Linked DNA regions of Homo sapiens: all the other regions are linked to region 3. The links are contacts of gene promoters, found by promoter capture Hi-C in blood cells and fetal thymus (Javierre and others, 2016). All regions are on one chromosome and are shown on one strand. The core of a region is centred on a gene start or on the middle of the fragment in contact, and the rest is flanking DNA. Distances in the headings are between cores, read along the strand shown. Region 1 has its middle 6.8 kb from the start of TMEM174. Region 2 holds the start of LOC340090 (a long non-coding RNA gene). Region 3 holds the start of LINC01386 (long intergenic non-protein coding RNA 1386). Region 4 has its middle 12 kb from the start of TMEM171. Region 5 has its middle 10 kb from the start of TMEM174.

Region 1 (5,047 bases), core at 318-2,817, 290 kb after region 3:
TTGATTTTATAACCACTGCTGACTGCTTGGGACATAAAACTCTTGATGATTTACAAGCAGTAAGTGGGCAAGAAATTCATAAATCACATTCCATAATAAGGGTGTAGGTGAATATACACACATACACTTATTCATATCCACTTTCAGAGGAAGAGCTGTAGGTATGTCCAGAAAATATATTCATTTTTAATTCAAAAAATGGAGAGCTCATTGATAAGAGGCCCACAGTCAATAACATCTGAGAGGTAAATTATATCAGGTAATATTTTAATGTAAAGCAAGAGGCTTTGCTCTTGTGTTTCTGAAAGAGGAGACTGGTTCGTGCTTTTGAGATGTTCAAAGGGGTTTTTATGATCTCTGAAGGAAAACAATAATTTTTTTTCTAAAAAGCTTTACTGACCAAGCCAAAAATGTTGAAGATTGCCAAGGTTTCCTGATACTCTTGAAATTATTCTGCAACAGATAATTCTCAACTAAACAGTCATTTGAAGATCTCTCTCTCCTTTTTTCTAAGTCTGGTTTTAGAAAAATCCCTAATAGTATTCTAAAAGTGGGAAAAATATAAGTTTTTAATTCCAGGGAAGTAGTAGGGCTTCAGGGAACTAATAGAGAAGGAGAAAAATCTTGTAAAACATATTTGTTTGGAAAGTAAAATTTAATAATTATGAATCTGCTACCATGAATAGTTTGCCAACCATCTGCCTCTCAAAATATAGTATGAAACAGCTAGAAATTTAAGATGCAATTGGCAAAATGTAATTCTTATTTGGATTCTGATTCAAACCAAACAAAGAAGAAAAAATAAGAGAGAGTGAGATGGGGGAAAATTGGGGAAATTTGAACACTGATTAGGTATTTGATGACATTCAAAAATAATTGTAAATTTTTAAGTTATAATAATGGTGTTCTAATTCTTTCAAGTCTTTATCTTTTAAAGATACACAACAAAATATTTTAGACTGAAATTATTTGATGGCTTGAATTTGCTTTTAAAAAATCCAACTGGGGGAATTGTGAGTGGGGGGTATAAATTAAACAAGATTGGCCATGAGTAGATAATCACTGAAGCTGGATGAAAGATACATGGGGTTTCATATACAGGCATACTTAGAGACATTGTGGGCTCGGTTTCAGACCACTGCAAGAAAGCAAATAATGCAATAAAGTGAGTCACACAAATTTTTTTGTTTCCCAATGCATATAAAAGTATATTTATGGGCCAGGCGTGGTGGCTCACGCCTGTAATCCCAGCACTTTGGGAGGCTGAGGTGGGTAGATCACTTGAGGTCAGGAGTTCAAGACCAGCCTGGCCAACATGGTGAAATCCCGTGTCTACTAAAACTACAAAAATTAGCTGGGCGTGGTAGTGGGCGCCTATAATCCCAGCTGCTTGGGAGGCTGAAGCATGAGAATGGTTTGAACCCAAGAGGCAGAGGTTGCAGTGAGCCAAGATTATGCCACTGCACTTCAGCCTGGGCAACAGAGCGAGACTCCATCTAAAAATATATATATATTTACACTATACTTGTCTGTTAAGGGTGCAGTAGCATTATGTCTAAAAAACAATGTACATACCTTAATTATAAAATACTTTGTTGCTTATTGCTTAAAAATGCTAGTGATCATCTGAGCCTTCAGCAAGTCATAATCTTTTTGCTGGTGGAGGGTCTTGCCTGGATGTTGATGCCTGCTGACTAATCAGTATGGTGTTTGCTGAAGGTTAAGGTGGCTGTAGTCATTTCTTAGTAAGACAACAGTGAGGTTTGCTGCATGGTTGAACTCTTCCTTTCATGAAAGATTTCTCTGTAGCATGAGATGATGTTTGATAGCATTTTTCCCACAGCAGAAGTCAACTTTCAAAATTGGAGTCAATCCTCTAAAACCCTGCTGCTGCCTTATCAACTAAGTTTATGAAATATTCTCAATTCTTTGTTGTTATCACAACGATGTTCACAGCATCTTAATCAGGAGTAGTTTCCATCTCATGGAACAATTTTGTTTACTCATTCATAAGAAGCAACTTCTCATTCATTCCAGTTTGATCATGAGATTGGAGCAATTCAATCACATCTTCAGGCTCCACTTCTAAATCTAGTTCTCTTGCTGTTCCCTTCATGTCTGCAGTTACTTCCTCCACTGAAGTCTTGAGCCTCTCAAAGTCATCCAAGAGGACTGGAATCAACTTCTTCCAAACACCTGTTAATGTTGCCATTTTTACTTCCTCCTACGAATCACAAATGTTCTTAATGGTATCTAGAATGATAAATCCTTTCCAGAAGGTTTTCAATTTACTTTTCCCAGATCCATCAGAGCAATCACTATTTATGGCAGCTATAGTCTTACAAAATCCATTTCCTAAGTAATAAGACTTAAAAATAGAAATCATTCCTTTATCCATGGGTTGCAGAGTGAACGTTATCTTAGTGAGCATGAAAACAACATTAATTTGCTTGTACATCTCCCTCAGAACTCTTGGGTCGATGAGCAGTAATATTTTTAATGGGATCCTTCTGAGCAGCAGGTGTCAACGGTGAACTTAGAATAATCAGGAAACCATGCTATAAATAGATGTGCTCTCATGCAGGCTTTGTTGTTTCATTTCTAGAGCACAGGCAGAGTAGATTTAGCATTATTCTTAAGGGCCTTGGGATTTTGGAATGGTCAATGAGCATTGGCTTCAGCTTCAAGCCACCAGCTGCTTTAGCCCCTAAGTCAAGAAAGTCAGCCCTTCCTTTGAAGCTTTGAAGCCAGGCACTGACTTCTCCTCTCTAGCTGTGAAAGAATTAGATGGTCTTCCATCTAGAGGGCTGTTTTATCTACAGTGAAAATCTGTTGTTTAGTGTAGCCACCTCCATCAATGATCTTAGCCAGATCTTCTGAATAACTTACTGCAGCTTCTAAATCAGCACTTGCTGCTTCGCTTTGCACTTTTATGTTATGGAGATGGCTTCTTTCCTTAAACCTCATGAAGCAACCTCTGCTAGCTTCCAACTTTTCTTCTGCAGCTTCCTTACTTCTCTCAGCCTTCATAGAATTGAAGAGAATTTGGGCCTTGCTCTGGATTAGGCTTTGGCTTAAGAGAATGTTGTAGCTGGTTTCTATCCAGACCACTCAAACTTTCTCCACATCACTAATAAGGCTGTTTCAATTTCTTATTATTCGTGTATCCACTGAAGTAGCACTTTTAATTTCCTTCATGAACATTTCTTTTGCATTCACAACTGGCTAATTATTTGGTACAAGAAACCTAGCTTTCAGCCAGTCTGGGCTTTCAACACACCTTCCTCACTAAGCTTAATTTCAAGTGAGCTTTTGATTTTGAGTGAGAGACATGCGACTCTTCCTTATACTTGAACACTTAGAGGCCATTGTAGGGTTATTAGTTGGCTTAATTTCAATATTGTTGTGTCTCAAGGAATAGGAAGGCCCAAGGAGAGGGAGAGAGTCGGGAGAATGGCCAGTGGGTGGAGCAGTCAGAGTGCACACATTTATCAAGTAAGTTCATCATCTTATATGAGCAAGGTTGATGGTGCCCCAAAACATTTACAACAGTAACATTAAAGATCACTGATTGCAGATCACCATAACTGATATAATAACAATGAAAAAGTCTGGAATATTGCAATAATTACTAAAATGTGATGTAGACACACAAAGTGAGCACACGCTGTTAGAAAAATGGCACTGAGACTTGCTCCACATGGGATTGCCACAAACCTTCCATTTGTTAAAAAAAAAAAATCTGCAAAGTCCAATAAAATGAGGTCTTCCTGTACTCTTTTATGTACGCTTGTATTTGTTTGAAATTTTTTGCAATGTGAAAAACAACAAAAACAGCTAACAAGCTAGAATGGTTACTCATTATGTATTTGAACATTTTTTCATGTATTCATATCACATTTATTATTCAACAGAAACCAAGCATTGGTTGCGTAAAGGGCTCTGAGTGAGACATTTCAGTAAATGCTGAGTGGTGTGAGCTGCAGTCACTCCAAACAGTGCAGGTTGTGACGGGTGGGGACACTACTGATATCTAGACCACATCAGCCTCTGTGTTGTGTGCTGGAGCCTCTCTCCTCTAGGTAAGTAAGAAGGTGTCTACCCGTTGGTTACTGTGAAGAGCTTCTGTTTAGGGGAACGGCCACCCAGCAGTATTCAGCTTCGGTGCAATCTACTCCACTGATCTAACAGTCATCAACAGCTAGTTGGAAGCTAGCAGAGGTTGCTTCATGAGGTTTAAGGAAAGAAGCCATCTCCATAACATAAAAGTGCAAAGCGAAGCAGCAAGTGCTGATTTAGAAGCTGCAGCAAGTTATTCAGAAGATCTGGCTAAGATCATTGATGGAGGTGGCTACGCTAAACAACAGATTTTCACTGTTAGTCATCTAACAGGACCGGAGAAGCCCCAGAGGTCTGAAGCTGAAAACAGAGACTCAAGGCCAGCTCTCCAGAAAAAAAAGGAGGCTTTATTTTTATGCTGTACCTAAAAAAGAAAAAGTAAGGAGAGCAGTCAAAGGGCTGGTTTTGTAGCAGACAGCCATGTGGTGAATTTGAAACTTACACCAGTGCCTGGCCTGCAGAGCAGAAGGGAATGTGACTGGGATCTCTGGAAAGCCCTCCACCTCTAGAAGGCACTTCCCAGAGGGCAGTGAAAACAGAGCCTCCTTGCACAAGAGATTTGCCCTCCAGTGGCCCAAAAAGGAGAAAGAAAAGTCCTGAGAGCTTTGTGAAAGCTTCTTCCCCTTGGTGTCTGAGCCTTGTTTCTCAAACCTGGATGATCCCTTTCCTCTCCATCAAAACCATCAGCTGTTATCAGTCACTGTAGGCAAAAAACCCAGCCCAAATTGCTCCCAGGAGATAACAAGTTCTTAAGAAACTCGTGGCTGGGCGCGGTGGCTCACACCTGTAATCCTAGCACTTTGAGAGGCTGAGGCACGCAGATCACCTGAGGTTGGGAGTTTGAGACCAGCCTGGCCAACATGGAGAAGCCCCATCCCTACTAAAAATACAAAATTAGCTGGGCATGGTGGTGCATGCCTGTAATCCC
Region 2 (4,841 bases), core at 1,156-3,655, 270 kb after region 3:
CAGCTAATTTTAGTATTTTTAGTGGAGATGGGGTTTCTCCATGTTGGTCAAGCTGGTCTCGAACTCCTGACCTCAGGTGATCCACCCTCCTCGGCCTCCCAAAGTGCTGGGATTACAAGCCTGAGCCACCACGCCCAGCTAGTGAACAGTATCTCAAAGGAGAGGACGGTTTTGGGGAGGACAGGAGAACCACTAGTAGGGCAGAGACAAGGAAAAAAAGCCTGGTCATTTGGTTTGGTTTTAAGGGATTCTGCATACGGAAGTTTTTAAAAAGGAAACGAAAGAGCAGAATAAGAAAACTATTTTTTAAATGTTCAAACGGGGTGAAAAGTTTTGTAGCCTTTTTATTTTAATTTATTCTTTTTTTTTTTTTTTTTTTTTGAGTCTTGCTCTGTCACCCAGGTGGAGTGCAGTGGTGTGATCTCCGTTCACTGCAACCTCCACCGTCCAGGTTCAAGTGATTCTTCTGCCTCAGCCCCCTGACTAATTTTTGTATTTTTGGTAGAGACGGAGTGGAAATCATGTTGGCCAGGATGGTCTCAAACTCCTGGGTTAAAAGCGATCCACTGGCCTCAACCTCCCAAAGTACTGGGATTACAGATGTGAGTCACCACGCCCACCTGTAGTCTTTAAAAAATATGTTTACGTTGAACAATTAAATTATTGAAACACAAAACATGCTATATAATTGTTCTGTTCAGAAAAAATATTACAGAATTTACAAAAAATATTAACTCAGTTCCCCACAAGCAATGTAGTCCAGTAACAGGGCCAGAGATAAAGTTGCAACCTCTGTCAGCTTCTATGGGACCGTGTCCATAACCTCATTTGCAGATGAGGTCTAACTTCGAAGTGTAACCTCTTTGTGAAAGCAGAGTTTCAGGCCAGCAGTCCTCCTGCCGCCCTCCCTCCCTCCCTCCGCCCTGTGATAGGCCCTGCGAAAGGCTCTGCCTTAGAGTGGGGAGGGTCTGTGCCGGGATGTGTCCCTTTGGGTCCCATTGGAGAGGGCTCTGGGGCCCCGCTAGCGTTTCCTCCTTTGTCCTGTAGGGGGAGCCGCTGCAGTTTCGCGGGAAGTCGGCCCGGCGGAGGGCAGAGCCCTGGGCGTGGAGGAAGCTGGAGCCAGGGGAGACTGGCAGGAAAGGATCACGTGGGCCAGCGAGAGGAGAGCCTGGACAGGGGCCAGCAAAGGGCGAACTTCTGCAGACGAGGACTATCCAGCCCTAGGGGTACGGGAGAGGGAAAGACGAGGCCGAGAGGGACCCTGACTTTGCAGCAGGGTGTCTGGGCATTGGTGGCTCCACCTGCAGAACCAAAAGAATCCACCAGGTCTGATGGGCAAAGGTAACAAACTCGGCGTGAGTCCTGCCTCGCTGCGTGGGTCGTCTCAACTGTGCTTCCTGCCGAACGCCCTAGTAGCTCCCTAAAAGATGGGTGCTGCGGGCAGGGTCCCCTGCGCGCCTGCCACCGTATTCTCTCTGAAGAGGGTGCAGGTTCTGAGAAGCACCTGCTTTTTTCAGCTAGGGAGGTCCTGATCTTTTTGCTCTTGTCCCAGGACATGGCATCATAATGTGAGACTTAGATTCTTGAAATTGGGAAGGGATTTCAGCAACTCGAGGGCAAGTTGCAGATATATGCAGGTGAAAGTCAATCATAAGAAGACAAGGCCAAGAGTGAATCTGTAATGTGAATGTTAGGTGTGGGCAGAAATATGAAATGTGCTGGCTGGAATGGACCTTTACTTTTCAGGAATAGCAGGAATTAACATAGAAAGAGGTTTATGTGGAATTAGAAGGAAGAGTGGAATCAGATATCTATTTCCCATAGTGGTCCAGTTTGCTATGAGTTTCAGAAATGCACATCACCACGATCTGGTATCGTGAAATGATTTCTTAGGTAAATAAGATGGTTTTCTGTTTCCAAATATAATATATATATATATATTTTTGAGACGGAGTTTCATTCTTTTTGCCCAAGCTGGAGTGCAATGGCACCATCTCGGCTCACTGCAACCTCCGCCTCCTGGATTCAAGAGATTCTTGTGCCTCAGCCTCCCGAGTAGCTGGGACTACAGGTTCACGCCACCATGCCCAGCTAATTTTGTATTTTTAGTAGAGAAAGGATTTCACCATGTTGGCCAGGCTGGTCTCAAACTCCTGGCTTCAAGTGATCTGCCCGCCTCAGCCTCCCAAATTGCTGGAATTACAGGCGTGAGCCACCACGCCCAGCCCCAAATATAATTTCTTTGCATAAAAATGAGCTTACTAAACAGACTCGGAAATTATTGTGAGATCCTATAACCCATTTTAAAAAAACAATTGAAAACATGCTGCATGTCTGATTTCCCATGTTGAGACAAAGCTACATATGACCACTTTTGAAGAACAATAGCAATATAAAGGTACATTTAGCTCTATTCTCATTTAAAAACGCTGTTATTTTAATTGACAAAACTTCACTGCTGGATTTCATTCTCCGTTTTGCACGGAACTTCCTTAGTCCTCACAAGTATGGTGTTTTAATTATATGTTTTTGTATTGACTGGTAAAAAGAACCAAACTCCATCCTGTCTCGTCCAGAACAACTCAAAAAAAAAAAAATGATGCTGTCATCTTCAATTCTCTTCTCTTGTAAGTTTTGCTCAGAAATGGGATATGTGCTGGAGTCTGCTATAATCACTGTGGTAGCAACACTGAGTGTTTCTGGCTTGTCAGGTCCTGTTCTAAACTATATACATTAACAGATTTAATGCCAAAGCAACACTTTGAAGAAGATAGACTATTATACTATGTAGAGATGAGGGAAGTGAAGCAAGAGTATAATGCCTAAAGTCACTGAGCCAGTAGACAGCAGAACCAAGTTTGAGATCCAGCCCATCTGATTCCCGGGTTCTCGCTCTTAAGCACTCCAGCATTGTGTCTATCATTCCAGAACTCAAGAAATGCCCTTCGTTTGGTGGAGCACAGGGGCTCTGAGCTCTGGGAATTATAACTGATTAGATCTCAACATAGGCCCAAATGTCAACAGATTTTTCTTTCTGGTTTGTGGGAGTTTCAAAGCAAATAAAGCCATCACCTGGTGTATAAGTGACAATCGCCTCAAGGCCCATGTAACTTCCCTGGTGTGTCTCCCCTGTGTTTCTCAGAAAGGACTCAAATGATATTTTTTCATTACATTTCCTTGGATGTCCACTGTGGGGACAAGAGTTACTTTATTTTAAATGCTAATCCGCCTGACTAACCCCGACTCCGGGAATGCCTCCAAAATGTCAAGTTGTATTACTCTTTATGTAGGAACATCTATTCACTCTCAAGTTTCCTCCAAAACAATCCTTGGTGCTGTTGCAGAAATCATAGGATGTGATGCCTGTAGCCACCTATGTATTCTTCCAGAGTGCACATACTTTCACCAAGATAAAAGCCCTGGGTCTGTGGGCAGTTGCAGTGCGGAGATCTATCTCAGTCTTATGGTTGTCTGCCTCATTCTTGAGTTTCTTGGCTCCTTCAGCATTTGGGGGTTGCTTTGCATATATGGCCATTTCAAGGAAAATCCACTCTGTATCAAATGTAGGAACAGTTCCTCATCTTAGAAGTGAGAAAAACCAGCTCAGAACAAGGAAGTCAAGGTAGAACTTCTCAGAGTTGAACATGGGGAGAGTGTCTTAAACCCTGACAGCCTAGGCTGACAAGAGCAATTCATTTAGGTTCCTCCCTGCAGGAGGCATGACTAGTGTTTAGCAATATCCTCATCTTTCCTGCTTCCTGGGTGTGCACTAGCATCGACTTCTCAGATCCCTTGTAGCTAGGCAGAGTCATGTGGCTAGTTCTGTTCAGTAATGTGGATGGAAATGTCACACATTGCTTCTGGACTGAGACAGTGAAAACCCCTGTGTGGTTTTCCAGGTTCCTCCTCCCCTGCTGCAGCTAACATGGAGGACTTGCATGGAGATGGTGGAGTCACAGGATGAACACAGGCTAAGTCACTACCTGGAGGACAGCTGCCTGGACAGTCACCTGGATCGCAGTGGACTGCATGAATGAAAACAAAGTGAGATTGAAGAGAATGAAAACAAAGTGAGATTGAAGAGTTATTTGTTACTGCAGCAAAACTTGGCCTACCCTGATATACTCACCTCTCTTTGTCCCCTAGGTTTCCTTTTTTGGTATAGGCAGTTTGCCAACCCCCTACATTCTCAGTCTGATTTCCTCATCCCAGTCACCATGGGAGGCAACTGCTACTGATCATTGCACAGACAAGGAAATTCAGGTCACAGCAATGAGAGCCAGAGAGTCAATTCGGCAAGGTCTCTGTCTTACTCTGCATTCTTTACCTCCTTCCCACTGCCCATCTCCTTCTGGGCTCCCCACCCAGTCCTTTGTGGGATGCAAAGGGTGAAAGGGATTGGAAGACTCAGGAGCCATGAGGCCCAGGTCCCACCACAACCTTGATGATGCCAAAAGGGGCAAGAATAGAAAAAAATCTGCCCTACTGAGGTGGGCATCTGCTTTCCCCCACCTCAGGAAAGAGGGCAGCAGTGTCCTCCTGAAGGCTGTGACTTCCTAAAGTCTGTGAGGGTTTAATGTGGAAATATCATGGAAGGGAGCGGGAGGGAACATGCCTTGAGATGAGGGAGTAGCCCGATCCTGAGAGAGGGTTCTGACTTCTCCCAGACTTAGAGAGGGGAACAGAGGGCCAGGGAATATGAGGAAGTTGAGATTTGGCAGCTAGTAGATGCCAAGCCTGGAGTCAGTGAGGGGAGGAGAGCTGTGAGGGCCTCCCTGAGCCTCCTAGCAGTGCCTGACAGACAGGCAGGGAGGCCTGGGGTCCGCCAAAAGCACAATGGT
Region 3 (4,549 bases), core at 1,771-4,270:
CAAACCAACAGCAAAGTACTTTCCTGTCAAGATGCCTAGGTAGTTTTAATTCAGAGTTTCTCAACTTTAAAAAAAATGTCATTTCCCTAAGGAGCTTTGAAAAATGTGTTGGCCAGGTGCAGTGGCTCGTGCCTGTAATCCCAGCACTTTAGGAGGCTGAGGCAGGACTCTCGCTTAAGCCCAGGAGTTGGAGACCAGCCTGGGGAACATAGTGAGACCCTATCTCAATAATTTAAAAAATATTTATATTGAATATTGACAAAAAAAATTTTTTAAATGAAAATAAAATAAATAAAAACATGTTTTACCTAATCATCCCCCCTTTAAAATTTCTTAATACCACAGATCTAGTATATATCTGTTTATGTACTGTATGTTATGTCTATACTTCATACATAAGAAGAGTAAGTATAAAGTTTATTATTTTTATCTGATGCAGGGTTAGGAAGGAGGAAATAAAATTTTAAATTAAAATTTTAGTTAAATTAAAAATAAAATTTATTATCATTTAATTTATCTTAATAACTATCTTTGCTGAGTAACTTTTAATAGAATTTATTTTCCCATAATTATAATGCATCAAATTTTATATGTAAATTGGCAATTTATATAGGTAAATAATAATAACAATGTATTCAGTTTGTTAGTTTCTTTTTTTTTGTTTGTTTCTGAGATGGAGTTTCACTCTTGTTGCCCAGGCTGGAGTGCAATTACCCACTCTCAGCTCACTGCAACCTCCATCTCCCAGGTCCAAATGATTCTCCTGCCTCAGCCTCCTGAGTAGCTGGGATTACAAGCATGCACCACCACGCCCAGCTAATTTTATATTTTGAGTAGAGATGGGGTTTCTCCATGTTGGTCAGGCTGGTCTCGAACTCCTGGCCTCAGGTGATCCACCTGCCTGGGCCTCCCAAAGTGCTGGGATTACAGGCGTGAGCCACCATGCCCTGCCTGTAGTTAGTTTCTTAAAAATCACTCAAGGCTGGCCAGGTGTGGTGGCTCACACCTGTAATCCCAGCACTTTGGGAGGCTGAGGTGGGCGGATCATGAAGTCAGGAGATTGAGACCATCCTGGCCAACGTGGTGAAACCCCATCTCTACTAAAATACAAAAAATTAGCTGGGCGTGGTGGCACGCACCTGTAGTACCAGCTACTCGGGAGGCTGAGGCAGGAGAATCTCTTGAACCTGGGAGTTGGAGGTTGCCGTGAGCCAAGATCTCACCACTGTACTCTAGCCTGGCAACAGAGCAAGACTCTGTCCCAAAAAAAAAAAAAAAAAAGAAAAAGAAAGAAAAAAATCAGGCAGGTGGATCACGAGGTCAGAGGGTGAGACCATCCTGCCCAACATGGTGAAACTCCATCTCTACTAAAAATACAAAAACTAGCTGGGTGTGGTGGCGTGCACCTGTAGTCCCAGCTACTCGGGAGGCTGAGGCAGGAGAATCATTTGAACCTCAGAGGGGGAGGTTGCAGTGAGCCGAGATCATGCCACTGCACTCCAGCCTGGGTGACAGGGAAAGACTCCATCTAAAAAAAAAAAAAAAAAAAAAAATTCAAAACTGGTACTTTTCTAGCAAAAGCAACAGTTGAAAATAACTGATTTTCTAAACATGAATGTTTAACTTTTGCTTCATATGAAAAAATAACTTTTTTTTTTTTAAGAGGCAGAGTAGCTCGAGTGTAGTGGTATAATCATAGCTCACTACAGCCTCAAACTCCTGGGCTCAAGTGATCTTCTTGCCTCAGCCTCCCAAGCAGCTAGGAATACAGGCTTGAACCACCACACCTGGCCAATTTTTCTATTTTTTGTAGAGTTGGGGGTCTCGCTATGTTGCGTATGCTGGTCTTGAATTCCTGGCCTCAAGCAATCCTTGTGCTTTGGCCTCCCAAAGTGTTGAGATTACAGGCATGAGCCACTAGGCCCAGCTGAGAAAATAACTAGACAGTCATTATTTATTCCGATATTGTTGATATTTTTTCTTTTCAGCACTTGACATATTTATTGATAGTTGAATAACTTTTGTAGGATTAAATAGTAAAATATATATCATTTTAATTTAATTCTCAAAGCTCAAGTCACACACAAAAATACTGAGGATCAAATATAGACAATATACTCAAGGCAGCCGATAACAGCCAATAGGCACAAAAAGGCCACCTCTAATGGACTGAGCAATCAATTGAGAAGTCCCCCAGTCACAGCCATCTACTCACCATAGTTTTGGTACCAATCTAGAATACATTTTGTGTATCTGCTATGTCAATACCAACCCCACTGAGTTGGGAGTCCTTGAGGGGCAGGCACTCTTTTGATCACCAAGCTGGTTTCTTTGTTTGGATCCCTGCAATCTGTTGTTGAAATGAGGTGTCCAGATTTGAATATAGTATTCTGACACAAAGTGGAGAAAAAGGTTATCTCTTCCCCTTTTTTAGACAGCATTTATCTAGTAACACAGTCTAAGATTGCATGGGGTGAGGAGTAGCCTGAATGGCTCTCTAAAGTCTGTTAGTAGTGGGCCAGGTGTGGTGGCTCTCACCTGTAATCCTAGCACTTTGGGAGGCTGAGGCCAGAGGATCACTTGAAGCCAGGAGTTCATGATCAACCTGGGCAACACAGTGAGACCCCTTCTCTACAAAAAATTTAAAAATTATCCAGATTTGGTGGTGCATGGCTGTAGTCCCAGCTACTAGGGAGGCTGAGGTGGGAAGAGTGCTTGAGCTTGAGAGATCAAGGCTGGGAGTGAGCCATGATTGCACCACTGCACTCCAGCCTGGGTAATAGAGCAAGACCCTGTCTCAAAAAGAAAAAAAAAAAGGTCTATGCATAGTGAACTGAAATCCCTAAGCCTTTCCTTACATATCCTGCTGTTATGATGAATTGTTCCTGGAACATAGGTGTGACTGGCATTCATACTTGTTACATTTCATTATTAGAATCTCCCCATTATTCTGTCATGTTGAGATATTTAAAGATTCTGATTCTATCATCCAATATATTTATTCATTCATGTATTTATACTTGCTTTTCTAAAGATATTTTCATAAAAGTTAATAAGAACAGAAACAAAAAAATCAGTATGAGGAAAAGAAGCAAAATTTCCAGTTCCTAGAGGTAACATATGTGCTGAGTTTGGGCATGTGAAGTGTAAATCTAAGCTTTACCTTAAAAGGGAGGATTATATTCTTCTTTATGCATCTTCCATTGCCGGGAGAGAATGGGTCTAAACAGGTTGTCTTGGGAGTTATACATATTTACTTTTTCAAAATAAAATACACTTGGCACCTGAGATTTAACCACTTAATATATATCAGCATACACTGTAAATTGTAAATATAACTGGAAAAACAGAATTTTGTAAAAATGCAAAATATGGTCTTTTTCATGCCCATAATACAATAAAGCATTTTATCATTTTGACCATATTAACTTATGTTAACAGTATGACATCAAACACGGAGTCAATGAGCAGCACAATTTTGGGGGAAAAAAGATCTTACTACTGATATTCTCTATAATAAAGGGAAGAGAGTGTTTTTGACTTGAATTTTTTGGACATTTGGCCGAATCCTTTACTCAGTGAGAATTGACTTGGCTTATGAGAGTTAATTCATACCATTTGGAGGCTGAAGCAGTTATAAAGCTGCTTTGGAATGTCCTAAATTGGGCCTAAGAGACCTGTTTTTGACAGATGCGCTCATGTAGTCCAGTCAATTGGCATATGGAATTTTAATGTACAAGCTAGTGCAAAAGTTTCTACATGTAACATTTATTAGTGCTCCTAGTGGCATGGAGAGACAGATGGTACACACATTACATGCAGAAGCGAGCTTTGCAATTGGCCTTACAGGCCCAATTTTGCTCAGTTACCTAGGTCCCTTAACTGCACCCCCATACTCCCCACCCCCACACACGTGTGAGAGCCCAAATGCCCAACCCTTCCATCTCTCCTGCCCCAGAGTCCACTATGGGAACCTCCCTTTCCTTCCAATTGCTTGACTTGAGATCTCCCTTCTTTCTTGCCCTTTCTTTGGCCCAGATCCTCACCTCCTCTGGATTTTCACATCCTCCAGCTGGTCCAGCATGAGCTCTGGAGGCTAAGGTAGGGAAGAACATTGCCTTACAGCTGTTCTCAGTCCCCACCCACCCCTAATATTAGTCTTGGCAACATTCATCCCATTTCCTCACATTTATCCCAGACTCCTCTCCTGACATCTCAGCTCTAGAAATGAAATGCTCAGGTCTACAAGAGCTGCAGAGAGATCTTCTGTCCCAGATAGTCCCAAAGAAAACTCAGGGGTGGGGAAAATGTCTTCCTTCCTTCTCTGTAATATCTAAATGAAATAGCAAAAGAGGGGAGTGCTGGGTGGAGCCTTTTTGCCTTTTCAGTCCCTGCCCCCTTCTCTGTTGTTACTGGCAATACAGACCCTTAGAAGCTAAAAAAAAAACCTTAAGGATGTGTGTGTGTTTTTAAAAGGTATGTCTGGGGAGGCGGAATGCTGAGTCTGAATTCTCTTCTTCACTGGCCCAAAGAGGAGAGAAATTCTGTT
Region 4 (5,271 bases), core at 984-3,483, 360 kb after region 3:
TTAAACACAAAAGAGCAATGCAGGAAATAAGGGACAAAAAAAGCTGTAAGTCATATAAAAAAATGGCAGAATGACAGAAGTACGTCCCTTCTTATTAGTAATAACTTTAAATGTAAATGGATGAAACTCTCCAATGAAAAGACAGAGATGATTGGCAGGAAATATTTTTTTCTGAAAAACAACAACAATAACAGCAACAAAACCCATGATCCAACTACATGCTGTCTACAAGAGACTTGCTTTAGCTCCAAAGACACATATAGAATAAAAGTAAAACGATGGAAAAAGATATTGCATGCAAATAGTAAACAAAAGATAACACAGGTGACTATACTAATATCAGACAAAATAGATTTTAAATTGTAAAAATGGTTACAAGAGACAAGAAGGGCAATATAAATAAAAGTTTCAACACATTAAGAAACTAGAACAACTATAAACATTTACAACCTAATGACAGATCATCAAAATATATTCAGCAAAAACTGACAGAATCAAAGGGAGAAATAGAAAGTTGTAAAATAACAGTTGTAAACATCCATATCCCACTCTCAATAACAGACAGAACAACCAGACAAGTAAGATACACAAGAAAATAGAGGACTTAAGAAACCAACATAATAAACCAACTAGATCTAACAGACATAAACAGAACACTCTGCCCAGCAACGACAACATACACATTCTTCTCAAGTGCACATGGGGCATGGTCCAGGGTAGATCATATGATAGGCCACAAATTGTCTCAATATATTTGAAAAAATAGATGTCTGCATGTTGGAAGTCCAAGGCAGGAGGATCACTTGAGCCCAGGAGTTTGAGACCAGGCTGGGCAACATAGCAAGACTTTATTTCTACAAACAAAAAAAAAGAAAAAAATTAGCCAGGCATGGTGTGCATACCTGTGGTCCCAGCTACTTTGGAGGCTGTGGTGGGAGGATCATTTGAGCCCAAAAGGTTGAGGCTGCAGTGAGTTGTGATCACACTACTGCACTCTAGCCAGGGCAACAGAGACAAGGTCAAAAAAAAAAAAAAGATAGATAGATATCATACAAAGTATCTTCTGTAACTACAACAAGACAAAATTAGAAAGCAGAATCAGAAGTAAAACTAGAAAACTCACAAAATTGTGGTTAAGCTTGTCTAAATTCAAATTAGAATGTTATAACTTTAGGATGCTAAACAACCAATGTTTCAAAGAAGAAATCACAAAGAAAATTAGAAAATACTTACAGATGAATGAAAATAAAAACAGAACATACCAAAACTTACGGCACTCAGCAAATGCACTGATCACAGGGAAACGTATAGCTATAAATGTTTACATTAAAAAAAAAAAACCTAAACAAAGCTAGCAAAGAGAAGGAAATAATAAAGATCAGAGCAAAAATAAACAAAATAGACAATACAAAAAATAGAAAAGATTAATGAAACAAAAGTTGGTTATCTGAAAAGATCAACAAAATTTACAAACCTTTAGGGAGAGGGACTAAGAATAAAAGAAGATTCAAATTATTAAAATCAGAAATGAAAGTGAGGATATTACTACCAATCCTACATAAATAAAAAGGATTTTGAGAGAGTACTATGAACAATTGTACATCAACAAATTGGATAGCCTAAATGAAATTGACAGGTTCCTAGAACACAAAACTTACAGCAAGGTGAAATCACAAAGAAATAGAAAATTTGAATGCACCTATAAATAGTCAGGAGATTGAATCAGTAGTCATAAATGTCTCATCAAAGAAAAGCCTTGGACCTGATGGCTTCACCATGAGTTTTACCAAACACTTAAAAAAGAACAATACTAATCCTTTTCAAACTTTTCCAAGAATTGAAGAGGCAGGAACACTTCCTGACTCATTCCATGAAACTAATGTTACACTGATACTGAAGCCAGACAAAGACACTGTAAGAAAAGAAAACTATCAGACCAGAAGGACAGAGTAAAAAATAAAATAAGAAAACTGTTGACCAATATTTCTTATGATATTGGTGCAAAAATCCTCAACAAAATATTAGCAAACCAAATTCAGCAGTATATTAAAAGGATCATATGCCATGATGAAGTGGAATTTATTTCTGGAATGCAAGAATGGTTAAACATATGAAAATTGACCAATGTAATGCACCATGTTAACAGAATGAAGGAGAAAAAACACGTGGTTACCGCAATTGATGCAGAAAAAGCATTTGACAAAAATTCAACACTGTTTTATGATTAAAAATACTCAATAAACCAGGAACGGAAGGAAACTATACCAACAGTGAAAGCCATGTGGGAAAACCCACAGCAAACATGATATTTAATGGTGAAAAACTGAACACTTTTCCTCTAAGATCAGGAATGAGGCAAGGATACCTACTTTTACTACTTCTGTTTAACATAGCCCTGGAAGTACTAGCCAGGGCATTTAGGCAAGAAAAATAATAATAATAGAAGACATCCAAATTGGAAAGAAAGAAGTAAAATTCTCAATGTTTGCAGATAATATGGTGTTGTATGCTGAAAATCCTAAATATTACACACACACACAAATTGTTAGAATAAAATGAATTCAGCAAAGTAGTAGGATACAAAGTCAACACAATGCAAAAATCATTTGCATTTCTATACACTGAAAATGAATAATTTGAAAAGGGAAGTATGAAAACAATTCCATTTATAATAGCACCAAAAAGAAGAAAATAATTAGAAATTAATTTAGACAAGGAAAGTCTTGTACAATAAAAACTACAAGATATTGCTGAAAGAAATTAAAGAAAGTATAATTAAACAGAAACACATCCCATGTTCATGGGTTGGAAGGCTTAATATTGTTAAGATGTCAATACTACCCAAAGTGACCTACAGATTTGATGCAATTCCTCTCAAAATCCCAGTGATATTTTGGAGAGAAACAGAATAACTGATGCTAAAATTCATTTGAGATCTCAAGAGATCCTGAATAGCCAAAAATCTTAAAAAAGAAGACCAAAGCTGAAGGACTCACATTTCCTGATTTCAAAACTTACTACAAAGCTGCAGTAATCAAAACAGTGTGGTACCGGCATAAAAACATACATATAGACCAATTGAATAAAATTGACATCCCAGAAATAAACTCTTACATGTATGGCCAAATGATTTTTGACAAGGGTGTCATGACCATTCAATGGGGAAAGAACATTCTTCTCAACAAATGGTTTGGGAAGACTGAATATCCATATACAAAATAATGAAGTTGGACCTTACCTAACACCATACAGAAAAATCACTCAAAATTAATCAAAGACTTAAATGTAACACCTAAGACTAGAAGGAAAACATAAGGCAAAAGCTTCATGACATTGGATTTGGCAATGATTTTTTTTTTTTTTTTTTTTTTTTTTTAGACAGAGTCTTGCTCTGTTACCCAGGTTGGAGTGCAGTGGCTCAATCTCTGCTCACTGCAACCTCTGCCTCCCAGGTTCCAACGATTCTCCCGCCTAAGCCTCCAGAGTAGCTGGGATTACAGGCATGCACCACCACGCCTGGCTAATGTTTGTATTTTAAATAGATACGAGGTTTCACCAGGTTGGCCAGACTGGTCTTTAACTCCTGACCTCAGGTGATCTGCCGCCTCAGCCTCCCAAAGTGCTGGGACTACAGGCATAAGCCACCACGCCCAACTGGCAATGATTTTTTGGAAATGACATCAAAGGCGCAGGCAAAAAAGAAAAACAGAGAGAAATTGGATTTCATGAAAGTTTGAAAAATTTATGCATCAAAAGACACTATCAACAGAGTAAAAAGGCAACCCACAGAATGGGAGAAAATCTTCGCAAACCGTATATCTAATAAGGAATTAATATCCAGCATATATAGAGAACTCACCTAAAACTCAAAAACAAAAAAACCAAACAACCTGATTCAAAAAATGGGCAATGGAATTTTATAGACATTTATCCAAACAGGATATACATATATCCCCACTAAGCACATGAAAAGATGTTCAATATCACTGATCATTAGAAAAATGCAAACCAAACTACAATGAGATGCCACCTCATGACTGCTATCAAAAAGAAAAAAACAGAAAATAAGTGTTAGAGAGGATGTAGAGAGATTGGAACCCTTGTGCACTGTTGGTGGGAACGTAAACTGGTATGAAAAGAGTTTATGGTGGCATGGTGGTTCCTCAAAAAATTAAAAATAAAATTACTATATGATCCAGCAATTCCACTTCTGGGTATATACCCAAAAGAACTGAAAGCGAGGTCTCAAAGAGCTCTTTGTACATCAAAGTTCATGGCAGCATTATTCACAATAAACAAAAGATGGAAGCAACTCAAGTGCCCATTTACAGATGAATGGATAAGCAAAATATGGTATAGACACACAATGGAATATTATTCAGCCTTAAAAAGGAAGGAAATTCTGACACATGCTACAAAGATGAATCTCAAGGACACTATGCTAAGTAAAATAAGCCAGTCACAAAAAGACAGATACTTTTTGATTCCAATTACATGAGGGGTGCTTACAGTAGTCAACTCACAGAGACAGAAAGTAGAATGGTGGTTATCATGGGCTTGGGGGAGAGGAGAATGAAGGCTTATTAATGGGCATAAACTTTCAGTTTTGTTTTCCTTTTTCTTTTCTTTTTTTTTTTTTTTGAGACAGTCTCACTCTCTGTCACCCAGGCTGGAGTGCAGTGGCATGATCATGGCTCGTTGTGGCCCCAGTCTCCCCAGCTTCAAGTGATTTTCCCACCTCAGTCCCCCAAGTAGCTGGGACTACAGGCAGGCACCATCACGACTGGCTAATTTTTGTATTTTTTTTTTTTTTTTTTTTTTTGGTAGAGATGGAGTTTCACCATGTTGCCTAGGCCGGTCTGGAACTCCTGGACTCAAGCGATGCCTCCTTGGCCTCCCAAAATGCTGGGATTACAGGTATGAACCTGACCTAAAGTTTCAGTTTTCATCTTTTCAAGATGAAAAGAATTATGAAGATGGGTGATGGTGACAGTTGCACAATATTATGAATGTGTTTAATACCACTGAATTGTACATTTAAAAATAGTTAAGATGGTAAATTGTATTGATGTGTGAAGGAAACCAGAATGTGTTACCCCAAAATATTCTTCTTTGACTTAAATATTTTTGAATTAAAGGCAATTAAGAAGTAGCAAACAAAAGAAAAGATCTCTCTATCCATCTGCTTTTCTGCCTAAAGATAGGATATAAAGTCCACTTTACTGGAGATAGCACTTATCAGCCCAGAAATAGCACCAGAAGAACCTACAA
Region 5 (5,279 bases), core at 2,096-4,595, 310 kb after region 3:
ATTCTTTTTAATTTTTTTGAATATTAAAAAGATTTACTGCCAAGACAAAATAAAAAGGTGAGTTTCCTACCTGTTTCAATGAAGTAATATTTTCCACATCATAACAATTTGTGGTACTTGTTAGAAACGCAGATTTTCAGCACTATTGGCAATGAGTGAATCAAAAACCCTGGATGTGAGGCACATAAATCTGAACTTGTATTATAAGTTCCCCAGATGATTCTTGGGCAGATTGAAGAGTGAGAACCCCTAGGGTAGTGGTGAGGTGTTATTGCATTAAATATATAGACTTGGGAAATTTGTCTAATGGCTAGACAATTTCTCTATGCCTGATATCTCAACACTTCTAGGAGCAAAAGTCCCATTAAAGGAAGTAGTTTTGCCCTGCTTTGATAGCTACTTCAGGCTAATAACAGGAAAGGTGGCAATGAGATGGTATGGCCAGGGACCAAGAAATACCCAAATCCTGCCACCCACCCTACCACTCCCCATGACTTCCCCATGGGAGACAGAGGCACAGAAGCACAGAACAAATTTACTGCTATAGGGCTTGAGCTGTAGAGAATGCCCCCATGCACAGAACTCAGGTAAGCTTGGCTAGAGCGCATGGTCAAGGCTGGAGGCCTCCCCTAAACTTGAACATGACCTCAAAGAAGCATAGGAAAAGTGATAACCAGAGAGGGCCAGGGCATGCAGACTCTCTGAGGACAGAGATATGTGGAGGAGAATGGGAGATGACATAAAAGATGATTGGGTCTCCTTCTACCTGCCAAAAGGCTCAGCCATCTTACCATCTTAACGCAGCAGCCACGTAAAAGAAGGAAGTAGAAAGGAGCTCCATTTAACCAAGTGCCCTTTTCAATCACAATGCTACCACCCATGTGTAAACATAGTCCAATTAATCTAGAACTTAAGCGAGGAGATTCATAACTACTCCTTCCAGAGAAAAGCATCAGATAAAAGATGATACCATCCAGGAATTTCTTTGGTGAAAATAAGAGAAATTCTTTTAACACTAATGCCAAACTTTTTATCAGTACAGTATAATTAAATGGTCTCAAATGGCTGATAGTCTCAGTGGTCAAGTAAGGCTCTTCCTTTAATTCTCAAACTTCATTTTTACTGTTAGGGTGTCACATGTAATAAAAACACATGGTTTTCCCTTGCAATTGTTGTTTGAGAATATTTAGCATAGAAACTTGAAAAACATTTGTTAACCAAGCCAACTTTGTGAGCAACCTTTGTTATTAAGGTGAGCTATTAATTCATTTGCTTTATCCAGAATTTTACCCTTTGTACTGGGTGGAACATACCTTCTTTGAAAAATGGAAATAATAGGCTGGGTGCGGTGGCTCATGCCTATAATCCCAGCACTTTGGGAGGCCGAGGTGGGCAGATGGCTTGAGGTCAGGAGTTCAAGACCAACCCGGCCAACATAGTGAAACCCTGTCTCTACTAAAAATAATAAAAATAAAAATTAGCCGGGCATGGTGGTGCGTGCCTGTAGTCCCAGCTACTCGAGAGGCTGAGGCAGGAGAATCACTTGAGCCCGGGAGATGGAGGTTGCAGTGAGCTGAGATCATGCCACTGCACTCCAACTTGGGCAACAGAGTGAGACTTTGTCTCAAAAAAAAAAAAAGGAAAGAAAGAAAAATGAAAATGATAATTTACATTATTCACAACTTCTCAGAAAAAATATAGAAAATAATAATTCAATCCTGAATTCAGAAAATCTGGCTGGTAAGTTTTCAAAGTTATTAATCATTTTTTTCTTTGGGGTCCATGACAAAGGAAATTATTTTAATTTGTTGAGAATGCATATATTCAATGTGCTATTTCCTTTTTGACAAAGCTTCCTGCTACTTAATTCCCTTAAGTAAGGAAATCCAGAGGCCAATTCTTTGTGGTGGTGTTCTCAATGGATGCAATGGCTACTGAAGAAACCTTAGGACCCCATCTTATTGAACTATTTGTACCAGTTATTTTATCTGATCAAGCTCTGGGCACGTCTTCACAAGCATTATCAATGGGAGCTGTCTCCCTTAGGGCTCCCCCAGCTCTGATCCTTGTTCTCCAATTGCAGCAAATAAAAGGAACTGACTGAATCAGAGATTAAATGACATGTCTTAAGATGCAGTTCACAATGACAAATGAAAACTGGTCCACTAGGCCAGGGGTGATGGCTCACGCCTGTAATCCCAGCAGTTTGGGAGGCTGAAGTGGGTGGATCACCTGAGATTGGGAGTTCAAGAACCAGCCCGGCCCAGATGGTGAAACCCCATCTCTACTAAAAATACAAAAATTAGCCAGGCATGGTGGCACGCGCCTGTAATCCCAGCTACTCAGGAGGCTGAGACAGGGGATTCGCCTCACTGCACTCCAGCTTGGGCGGCAAAGCGAGACTCCATCTCAAAAAAAAAAAAAAAAAAAGAAAAAGAAAAAAGAAAACTTGTCAACTAAAATTAAATACTTTTTAAAAAATTTAAGTTAATCAATCGGTCATTTAGCAAATTAGTCTTTAAGCAAATTGACCTAAATTCATTTTGCATAAATAGAACAAAGACCTGTAAAATGGTTACATCCCTTCGGTCTGTGCTTTTATCAAAATGTTCAAAATTAATTTTTTGGGAGGTTGGCAATATTTACTCAAATTTAAATTTTAATCTCTCACTAATTATTTATATATGGCTTTTTAGCACATTCAGATTTTTTTAAATAAGAGCACCCTTTTTGGTTTAGACTGCCTGTTTTGACCTAAGTTTTTCTTCAGCCATGTCTGGAGAGCAGTGCCACCTCCTTCCAAAGCATTTGTGACAGTGACCTTTCAGGAAATTGCAGGCAATGTTTCGTTTGCTAGATGGACTGTGGTTTATAATTAGGAAGGACTGTGCTTCTTACTAACACTTTGTATATCTACTTCCAGATATTTTTTACTTCTGCAGGTTCACACATCTCATAAAAATGAAATCTCATTAAACTTGATTTTTCTGGCCCAGTGCAGTGGCTCACATCTGTAATCCCAGCACTTTGGGAGGCCGAGGCAGGCAAATCACTTGAGGTCATGAGTTCGAGACCATCCTGGCCAAAATGGTGAAACCCTGTCTCCACTAAAAATACAGGAAAATTAGCCAGGTGTGGTGCTGGGTGCCTGTAATCCCAGATACTCAGGAGTCTGAGGCAGGAGAATTGTTTGAACCCAGGAGGTGGAGGCTACAGTGAGCCAAGATTGCACCACTGCACTCCAGCCCGGGCAACCCAGCAAGACTCTATCTAAAAAAAAAAAATTATTTTTCTTCAACTCACCTTTTTACCTAGTAGCTCATGTCATCTTTCCCAAATTCATACAATTTTAGTTTTTAATATTTTGACAAGAATGAGTGATTCAATTATAGCTGGAAGTTTCTCAAACAAGCAATACAAAGATATCAAATAGATATCAAAGTTTAAGCTCATTTTCTTCTCCACAATAAAATCCATAATTTGAATAAGAATCTAGGGTAAACCATTTTTAAAACTTTATGAATGCATTGTTTTGGCAAGTCACTGGGAAAACAGCTTTAAATCTGAGTGGGGAAGAGTATAACTTGACACAACCTCTTTTTGGGGGGCTTGGCAATATTTACTAAAATTCAAAATGTACGTACAACAGAATTAAAGAAGCTACAAACATCTTCTAGGAATGTAACCTACATACTTACAATAGACACCTTACAAAAGGATACTTTAGCAGAATAGACAATGAATCACTATCTGTACTAACAAAGTACAGGGATGGGGAACCCTACATGTCCATCAGTAGTGGACTGGCTAAATAACTTATGGTGGTAAAATATAAGGTTCTCTTCCACTGTTAAAGAGCAAGTCAGCTGTACATACACAGGTATGGAATAATCTCTAAGATGTGTTATTGGTTGAAAAAGAAAGCAGAGTGAGTACTGTAGTGTGCTTATTATGCCATTATTTGCAAGGGGAAAGACATACACATCATTGAATGTCTGTGCATAAAATGTCATTGAAAGAATATGAAATAAATTTGACAGAAGAACTGAGAGGGTGTTCCAGTTATCTATTGCTATATAACAATCCACTCCCAATTTTGTGGCTTAAAACAGTTATGTGGCTTGGCTGAGTTTTGTCAGGCAGTCAGCAAGGGCTGCCAGAACCTAGAAGCTCACCTGAGTGGGACATCAAGATGGTTCACTCATGTGACTGACAGCTGATGCTAGGAGCTTCGCTGGCTCATCAACCAGAGCACTCACCTGTGTCTTTCCATGTGGTTTCTCCCGGCCAGGGGACTGGGTTTCAAGAGGAAGTGTCTTAGGAGCAAGTACTCCTGGGGTCCCAGGTGGAAGCTGTGAGGCGTCTTATGACCTGGCTTTGGCAGTCCCAGAATATCACTCTCATTTCATTCTATTGCTCAAGCAAGTCACTAAACCAACCCAGATACAAAGGGAAGGGAATTCGATTCTTCCTTTCTATAGTTGGAATGTCAAGGTCACATTGCAGAAGAACACTTGGGAGAGGAAATATTACCATCTTTCTCTTTGGAAAATACAATCTTCTGCAGAGGGAGATTTACTTTTCACTGTTCAGTCTGTGATACTGCTTGAATTTTCGTCCATGTGAACATCCAAATATAGTCCAAGATTTTAGATCAACCATGTTTATATACCCATTCACTTGTGGCTGGTTAGTAACCTCATCCTTCTTTACTGGCAAGTTTTCAGTGAGTCCTCAGGTGGTAACACTCTGTCACAATCAACAATAATGGCAGGTTCTGAATTTTTCTGAGTTTCTTACATATTTTCACTGCTTTTCAGACTTAGACATCAAGCTTCCTGTTTTTAACCACCAATCCACATTCCCCGTTAAAAATTGTAATTTTGAAATGATTATAGTTTAAAAAGATGAATAATGAATGACAGTATAACCACAAAAACAGAGTTTTCAGAGGTTATCAGAGACCTGCGGTGGGAAGTGAAACTAAGCGTGGTCATATAGTTCTGAACAAATCGTTTGATTGAACACATTGTGGTTGGAAGTAAATTGCTTTGTGGAAGCTGTGTGTGTGTGATTAAATGTCTTTTTTCAAAAGTTTGGTAGAGTGGCAAACCCATGTTTCAAAGATCTGTCTGCTTGTGCTGTGATCCTGCAGGGTAATCTATTGGCCATATTCACTTGGATCAGACTACAGACAGAACACTACCAGGTTCTCTGATAACAAAAAAGCCCCAAAATATTTCAACAACTTATAGCACATAAAAAGCAAAATAAAACAA

Evidence for each region. Contacts are between HindIII fragments. The CHiCAGO score rates a contact against its expected background, and 5 or more counts as called.
Region 1: a fragment that was not itself captured here is called in contact with the fragment with the promoter of LINC01386 in region 3 in 1 of 17 cell types (M1 macrophages); the score reaches 5.4 in M1 macrophages.
Region 2: a contact is called between a fragment that was not itself captured here and the fragment with the promoter of LINC01386 in region 3, in 1 of 17 cell types (M2 macrophages). The highest score is 5.8, in M2 macrophages.
Region 4: a contact is called between a fragment that was not itself captured here and the fragment with the promoter of LINC01386 in region 3, in 1 of 17 cell types (M2 macrophages). The highest score is 5.5, in M2 macrophages.
Region 5: a fragment that was not itself captured here is called in contact with the fragment with the promoter of LINC01386 in region 3 in 1 of 17 cell types (M1 macrophages); the score reaches 6.2 in M1 macrophages.

What each region holds. Positions count from the first base shown.
Region 1 is chr5:73,177,440-73,182,486 of GRCh38, reverse strand. No RefSeq gene overlaps it. Among named protein-coding and RNA genes, the nearest start is that of TMEM174, 6.8 kb to the right of the region's middle. The HindIII fragment of the contact is 2,349 bases long and covers 393-2,741 here.
Region 2 is chr5:73,198,318-73,203,158 of GRCh38, reverse strand. It overlaps LOC340090 (a long non-coding RNA gene), which reads left to right and starts at 1,198. Exons shown (of 3, transcript NR_134291.1): 1 at 1,198-1,341; 2 at 3,900-4,070. The HindIII fragment of the contact is 5,769 bases long and covers 1-4,841 here.
Region 3 is chr5:73,471,437-73,475,985 of GRCh38, reverse strand. It overlaps LINC01386 (long intergenic non-protein coding RNA 1386), which reads left to right and starts at 3,020. Exons shown (of 5, transcript NR_126410.1): 1 at 3,020-3,113; 2 at 4,039-4,101. The HindIII fragment of the contact is 6,957 bases long and covers 1-3,159 here.
Region 4 is chr5:73,105,734-73,111,004 of GRCh38, reverse strand. No RefSeq gene overlaps it. Among named protein-coding and RNA genes, the nearest start is that of TMEM171, 12 kb to the left of the region's middle. The HindIII fragment of the contact is 2,185 bases long and covers 1,141-3,325 here.
Region 5 is chr5:73,160,054-73,165,332 of GRCh38, reverse strand. No RefSeq gene overlaps it. Among named protein-coding and RNA genes, the nearest start is that of TMEM174, 10 kb to the left of the region's middle. The HindIII fragment of the contact is 2,982 bases long and covers 1,855-4,836 here.